Linked DNA regions of Homo sapiens: region 2 is linked to region 1. Evidence: promoter capture Hi-C in 16 types of primary human blood cells and fetal thymus (Javierre and others, 2016). All regions are on one chromosome and are shown on one strand. Each heading gives the region's core, a stretch centred on a gene start or on the middle of the fragment in contact. The rest is flanking DNA. Distances are from core to core; before and after follow the strand shown. Region 1 holds the start of SH3D21 (SH3 domain containing 21). Region 2 holds the start of LSM10 (LSM10, U7 small nuclear RNA associated).

Evidence for each region. Contacts are between HindIII fragments. The CHiCAGO score rates a contact against its expected background, and 5 or more counts as called.
Region 2: a contact is called between the fragment with the promoter of LSM10 here and the fragment with the promoter of SH3D21 in region 1, in 1 of 17 cell types (endothelial precursors). The highest score is 5.6, in endothelial precursors.

What each region holds. Positions count from the first base shown.
Region 1 is chr1:36,304,935-36,307,758 of GRCh38, forward strand. It overlaps SH3D21 (SH3 domain containing 21), which reads left to right and starts at 1,434. Exons shown (of 16, transcript NM_001162530.2): 1 at 1,434-1,490; 2 at 1,664-1,821; 3 at 1,908-1,971; 4 at 2,233-2,351; 5 at 2,583-2,673. The coding sequence starts at 1,487. It overlaps THRAP3 (thyroid hormone receptor associated protein 3), which reads left to right. Exons shown (of 12, transcript NM_005119.4): 12 at 1-423. RefSeq lists silencers at 1,475-1,524, 1,745-2,184 and enhancers at 1,682-2,482, 2,285-2,334. The HindIII fragment of the contact is 29,085 bases long and covers 1,116-2,824 here.
Region 2 is chr1:36,396,114-36,399,250 of GRCh38, forward strand. LSM10 (LSM10, U7 small nuclear RNA associated) reads right to left here and starts at 1,795. Exons shown (of 2, transcript NM_032881.3): 1 at 1,654-1,795. RefSeq lists enhancers at 940-1,652, 1,653-2,364. The HindIII fragment of the contact is 5,014 bases long and covers 1-2,187 here.

The DNA of each region.
Region 1 (2,824 bases), core at 184-2,683:
AAAAGAAACTCCTATGATCGATTAAGGAAGGTGGTTATGGCTGGGTGGTTCAGGGGTTTTTTTGGGTTTCTTTTTTTTTTTCTTTGTCTTTTTAACCTTAAGCTGTTTAAGTTGAAGCATTCTCAGATGTTTGGGGGGAAACATCCTCTTAAAATGGGTCCTTGTGCTTGCCTTCTGGGGAGGCGGTCCTGAGCAGGTGAATCATAAGGCATTTATGCATATGTTATATGCGGACTGCACCCACCTCTCCCCCCCAGCCTTTGCCTCTTGCGTTGTTGTGCTGCTTTCCCCTTACTTTGCTACATTTCTATAGTTAAGTTGGTTTTACTTGAATGATTCATGTTTAGGGGGAAAATGAAAATCTCCCTTAAAATTTGTTTCAACTCCTCCTGCAAATAAAATAAATGAAGTGGCAGATGTAAACGGGTTCTGTTCATTGTCATCCTGAGTGTGTGTGTGTGTTGAGGGTGGTAGATAACTTCCCACGGCAGTTTCAGAAAACCTGAAAGACAAAGGGCCTGTGGGGCCTTGCGCAGGCTGCTGGAGTCCCAGACAGACACAGTCCTTCCTGGGAGGAGCATTGTGTACCTTGGACACCCCAGGAGAAACAGATTTTTTCCACTGGTGTCATAGGCAAGGACTTTGGCTTCCTTCATCATGGTGGTGGGGCAGGGATCAAGGGATGTGGTTAGTAGGCTCAGCCTTCTACCTGAAAGAGCCTATCCCACATGGACTGGCCATAGGGTGGGCCCTAACCTTCAGACTCCTGCCGGCTGGGGACTCAACTGTGAGCAGAAATCTTGGAAGCTGGTAAAATTCATTCTCCCGGCCTAACTCCCAGGGAAAACCTGGAGGTGTTTTCTGAAACCAAACTAGACCTCTGGCCCCAAAGCAGGGGTCTTTGCTGTGTCCTTCCTATATGGGGGTAGAGAGTGGGTACGGGGCCAGAGAGGAGTACGCCTTGAAGGAAAGCAGACTGGAAGTGTCCACTCAAAGCTATTGCTGGTACAAGGGCAGCCACTTCATTCACTCAAGGCCGGTTTAGAGCGGTTGCTACTTGCTGGGGGGCCCCACCCTGGTATGTGCCTCTCCCCACCTTTTCCCCTCAAGCCAAAAGCTTGTGAGCTGGGGAAGGGTGGGCCTGGAAAGGCTCTGTGCAAATTGTAGCTGGGAGCCTCCGGGCAAAAGCTGAGGGAAAGGGAGAGGCGGCTGGCCTAAAATTTAGGTGGGCGGAAGAACCTGTGACGGAGCTGTGACCGCTGCACAGGCCAGAGACCCTGGAGTCCTCCTCACCCCGGGGTTGGGGGCCGGACCTGCTGAGCCGGGCCGCCCCCTCTCCACACCCACTCCCAGCACCTGGCCCGACCTATCGGCTGGCGGCTACGCCTCCTTTACCCTACTGTCTTGCCTCAGGTCGCACCCTGCGCGGGCCCAGTACTCGGCCGTCAGAGGGAGCTGCCAGGCTCTGGAGGGCGCCCCGGAAACCATGGGTAAGTGCGGAGGCTTTGAGGTGGCCTCTCTCTGCAACCGTGGACATAGCAAGAGCCCACACCACCCCCCGACCCCCGCTGCCCTCTACGGTGCTTGGGGACACGCCCGCCCTAGCCAGGCTGCCCGGCTGGGCCTTTCTGAGCCGCACGCCGGCCCCGTCTTCCGCCCGCAGAAGTCCTCGTCCTGGCCGGATACCGCGCGCAGAAGGAGGACGAGCTGAGTCTGGCGCCCGGGGACGTGGTCCGGCAGGTGCGCTGGGTGCCCGCGCGGGGCTGGCTTCGCGGAGAGTTTGGGGGCCGCTATGGCCTCTTCCCCGAGCGCCTGGTGCAGGTGAGGCCGAGCCAGGGGCGGGCTGTGGGGTCTCAGCGCGCGCCCCCCGGGAGCTGAGAGCGCCTTCCCCGTGCCCTGATTCCCAGGAGATCCCAGAGACCCTGCGGGGCTCCGGAGAGGCGCGGAGGCCGCGCTGTGCGCGCCGCCGAGGTGAGCGCAAGGGCGGGGACGGGCGCCGGTGGGCGGGTGCACGGAGCCAGTGCGACCCCGGCGTCTCCGGCTCTTAGTGACGGGCGCGGCTCTGGGCGGGACCTCGGGGCCGCCCTGCGGTCTGTGATTGGTTCTCGAGTGCAATGCTCCGCCCTGGGGCGGGGCTGGAGGGACCAAAGGCTACGTGCGCGCCTTGCGCTTCCCCCAGCTCCTCTGACTGGGGCGTCCGACTGGAGCTCAGCCGCGCTTGTCCGGTGCTAGGTCATCCTGCCAAACACCCGAGGCCCCAAAGATGGTGCAAAGTGAACTTCAGCTACAGCCCAGAGCAGGCGGACGAGCTGAAGCTGCAAGCTGGGGAGATCGTGGAAATGATAAAGGAGGTGAGGGGTGAGGTGATGGGACCGTTTGGGGGAGGATGATGGAACGCGCCTCCCTAGTGAGCGGGGTGGGAAGTGAGGGTGTGGACGGTGGGAATGGCGACGGTGCAGATACGGGGAAGCGCGGGAGGGAAGGAGGGAGGAAGGGGCGCTTGGGCAGAACCAAGGGTGGCAGATTATCCTAGGGACTCTTGGGGCAGAACCAGACGCCTCTGCGTCCTCCCCTCTCCCCAGATTGAGGACGGCTGGTGGCTGGGGAAGAAGAACGGGCAGCTGGGAGCCTTCCCATCCAACTTTGTGGAATTGCTGGACAGTGGGCCCCCAAGTGAGACCTCGACTCTGTGACCCTGTGACTCGCAATCTCCAATGACCCTCCCAGTGGCATGAGCCTGTGATTCACATATCCTGACCCTGTGACCCCTCTGACCCTCTCCCATGACCTAACCTGTGAATTAGCACCCTCCCTAACCTCACTG
Region 2 (3,137 bases), core at 545-3,044, 92 kb after region 1:
TCGGGGGGCTGAGGCAGGAGAATGGCGTGAACCTGGGAGACAGAGCTTGCAGTGAGCTGCAAGTGGAGTGCCACTGCACTCCAGCCTGGGCAGCAGAGTGACTCCATCTCAAAAAAAAAAAAAAAAAAAAAAAAAAGAAAGCTCCCCAGATAACTCCAAAGTGCTGAGGGGTACTGGTTAGAAATGCGCAATCTCAGGTCTCTCCCCAAGCCTGTTCTGAGATAAAATCCACTCCTTCACTGAGTGGCTCACTGCCATCTTCCACGCTGGCTGGAAACAGACTGCATTTTAACATGACCCCCTACGTGAATTAGATACACGTTAAGGTTTGAGAATCATTGGTTGACACCAGTAGTTCTCAAACATTAGTGTGTATCAGAATCATCTGAGGGGCTTGTTAACTCAGCTTGCTGGGCCCCACTCCCAGTTTGACTCAGGTCTGAGGTGAGGCCCAGAGATAAAGTCATTTTGAACATGTTCCCAGGTGATGCTGATGCTGCTGGTCAGGGGCCCACACTCTGGGAACTATTGGTCTACACCATGCAGCTGTTATGTAAGTAGAAATTAAGGTAATGAGGCCGGGTGCAAGGGCTCACGCCTGTAATCCCAGGATTTTGGGAGGCCAAGGCGAGTGGATCACCTGAGGTCAGGAGTTCAAGACCCGCCTGGCCAACATGGTGAAACCCAGTATCTACCAAAAATACAAAAATTACCTGGGCATGGGCGCACCTGTAATCTCAGCTACTTGGGAGGCTGAAGCAGGAGAATCGCTTGAACCCAGGAGGCAGAGGTTACAGTGAGCCAAGATTGTGCCACTGCACACCAGCCTGGGTGACACAGCGAGACTCTCAGAAAAAAAAAAAGAAAATAAATCTGGATAATGAATTGGGGAAAAAAACCCCCAACCGGTATTATATAAGGTACATAGGTTTTGAAGGTAGAGAAACCTAGGTTGGAATCCCCACTCCACCCCTAATTATGAAAACCTAGAAAAGTTAATGTCTCTGAACCTGTTTCCACATTTATTAAACTACAGGAGAAACAAAGCTACCAGAATCACACTCCACTAAAGGTACTCTCCTTTGATTTCAACATGCCCTGATAATGTATTAGTGCACTATGTCTTACCTATCCCTTATTTTCAGACCTGAGTTAAAGGGGGTGGAACGCTCTCTCTTTACGACCTCACTCAGCATCCCGTCCAGGGCTGTGCATTGTGGCACTGAGCGTGGCAAGCCAGACTAGGCCAGTGACGAGGGGGCCTGGGAGCTAGGTCCCTGGGCATGGCCTAACGACCAGCCACCCGGCTGCAGCCTGATGAATCTGCGATCAAGCAAAGGTATGGGGCTGCTGCTGCGACTGCAAAGAGCAGTCACCGGACCTCGAGTCAGGCCCGGGTTCTAGAACAGGCTTTGCCACCTCCTAGGAGGGCGATCACTTAGCAAACCACTTAGCTTCTCCAAGCTAGCTAAGCTACCGGTAAAACGGGATGAGCACCGCTTACTCAGAGCAGCGGGAGCGGGTCTGGGGAAAGGAGCTATACTCGGTAAATGGGGAAGAAAACGCTTCCTGGGCTCCGGCACCTCCTTCCGGAGGTCCTGGCATCCCCCGCATTCCGCCCCGGGGCTCCCTGCACCGCCGACCCGGACCCACCACGCGACATTCCTTCCGCTTTCCCCGTCTGGGTCGCCGCCGAAGCTAGCGGGCGCCTGGACTGGCTGCCTCCCGCCGGCTGCAGCAGGACGGAGAAACCATGCCGGCGACCGGGCCGCTCTGTCCTCCGGGCGCAGAGTGCGTCAGTGCTCTGCAAGTCACCGCGTCACGGAGAAACTACAATCCCCAGAATGCTTCGCGGCGCGGGGCTCGTGCTCCGCAAATCCCGGCCTGCGTCATTGGAGTCTCTTTCACTAGAGTCGTTCATTCATTCCGCACGCATTCATTGAACCGGCGACCTGGGCCAGGCTCCTTCCCAGGCTCCGGCATGGAGCAGTGACCAAGATCAAGTGGCTCCCTGAGCTGATGGCGCTGCAGGGGAGAGAGTCTTAAGAAAACAAAGAAGAAAAATAGGGAAAAATTTCTTCAGAAGATTAAAGGTGTGATGTGATGGTGACAAGGTGGTCTTTTATTGGATTGTCAGGGGTGCCCTGAGAAGGTGACATTTGAGTTGAGATTAGTGACATGAAGCCAAGCTTGTGAAAACTATGGGAGGAGCATTGCAATTAGCGGGAACAGTTTGTTAAGTAAAATTTATAGGAGGCAGGGCCGGGTGCAGAGGCCCACACCTGTAATCCCAGCACTTTGGAGGACAAGGCGGAAGGATCACTGGAGCCCAGGAGTTCGAGACCAGTCTGGGCAACAATGGGGAGACCCTGTCTCTACAAAAAATAGAAAAAATTAGCCCACCGTGGTGGCGTACACCTCTGGTCCCACCTACTTGGGAGGCTGAGGCAGGAGAATTGCTTGAATCCAGGAAGTGGAGGCTGCAGTGAGCTCAGAAAGTAACACTTCATTCCAGCCTGGGCAACAGAGCAAGACTCCGTCTCAAAAAAAAAAAAAAATTGGAGGCCATTGGTTTGAACAGGGCTCCTGCACCAAGCCCAACAGAACCAAAATGGAGTCACTCATGCTAAAGTTCTACATCACCAAGTGGAAACTAAGTTGTTTATCTGATATTCCGATAAATCAGAAGAGTGAGAGATAGCTAGATCTCCAAACCATCCTGTTTTAGCTGGCAGGATAAGGAAGTCCCCTCTGCTTTAGCCTTCAAAGTTACAAGGAAAGTAACTTTGAAACAACCAATCTTTTTGTTTTCTGTTTCTGCTTTCCTCAGCCCTTTTCTGGCTGTAAAACCAATCTCCTCTGCTCAGCTCATTTGAACACTCATTCCATTTTATAGAATGAAGTGTTGCCCGATTCTAGAGTTGCAAATAAAAGTCAGATTTAACAAATTTGGCAAAAAAAAGTCAAATCACCAATTAAAAGTTAAATTTTTTCTTTTCACAGTTCATGCAAAGAACCTGGGGGAAATGACCTTGACAATTTAGGAACACAGGAAAGGCCAGGGAAGCTGGGGAGAGTGGTATAACAAGAGGCCAGAGAGGAAGCAGGAACCAGAGCATATAGGGCTTTGTGAGCCA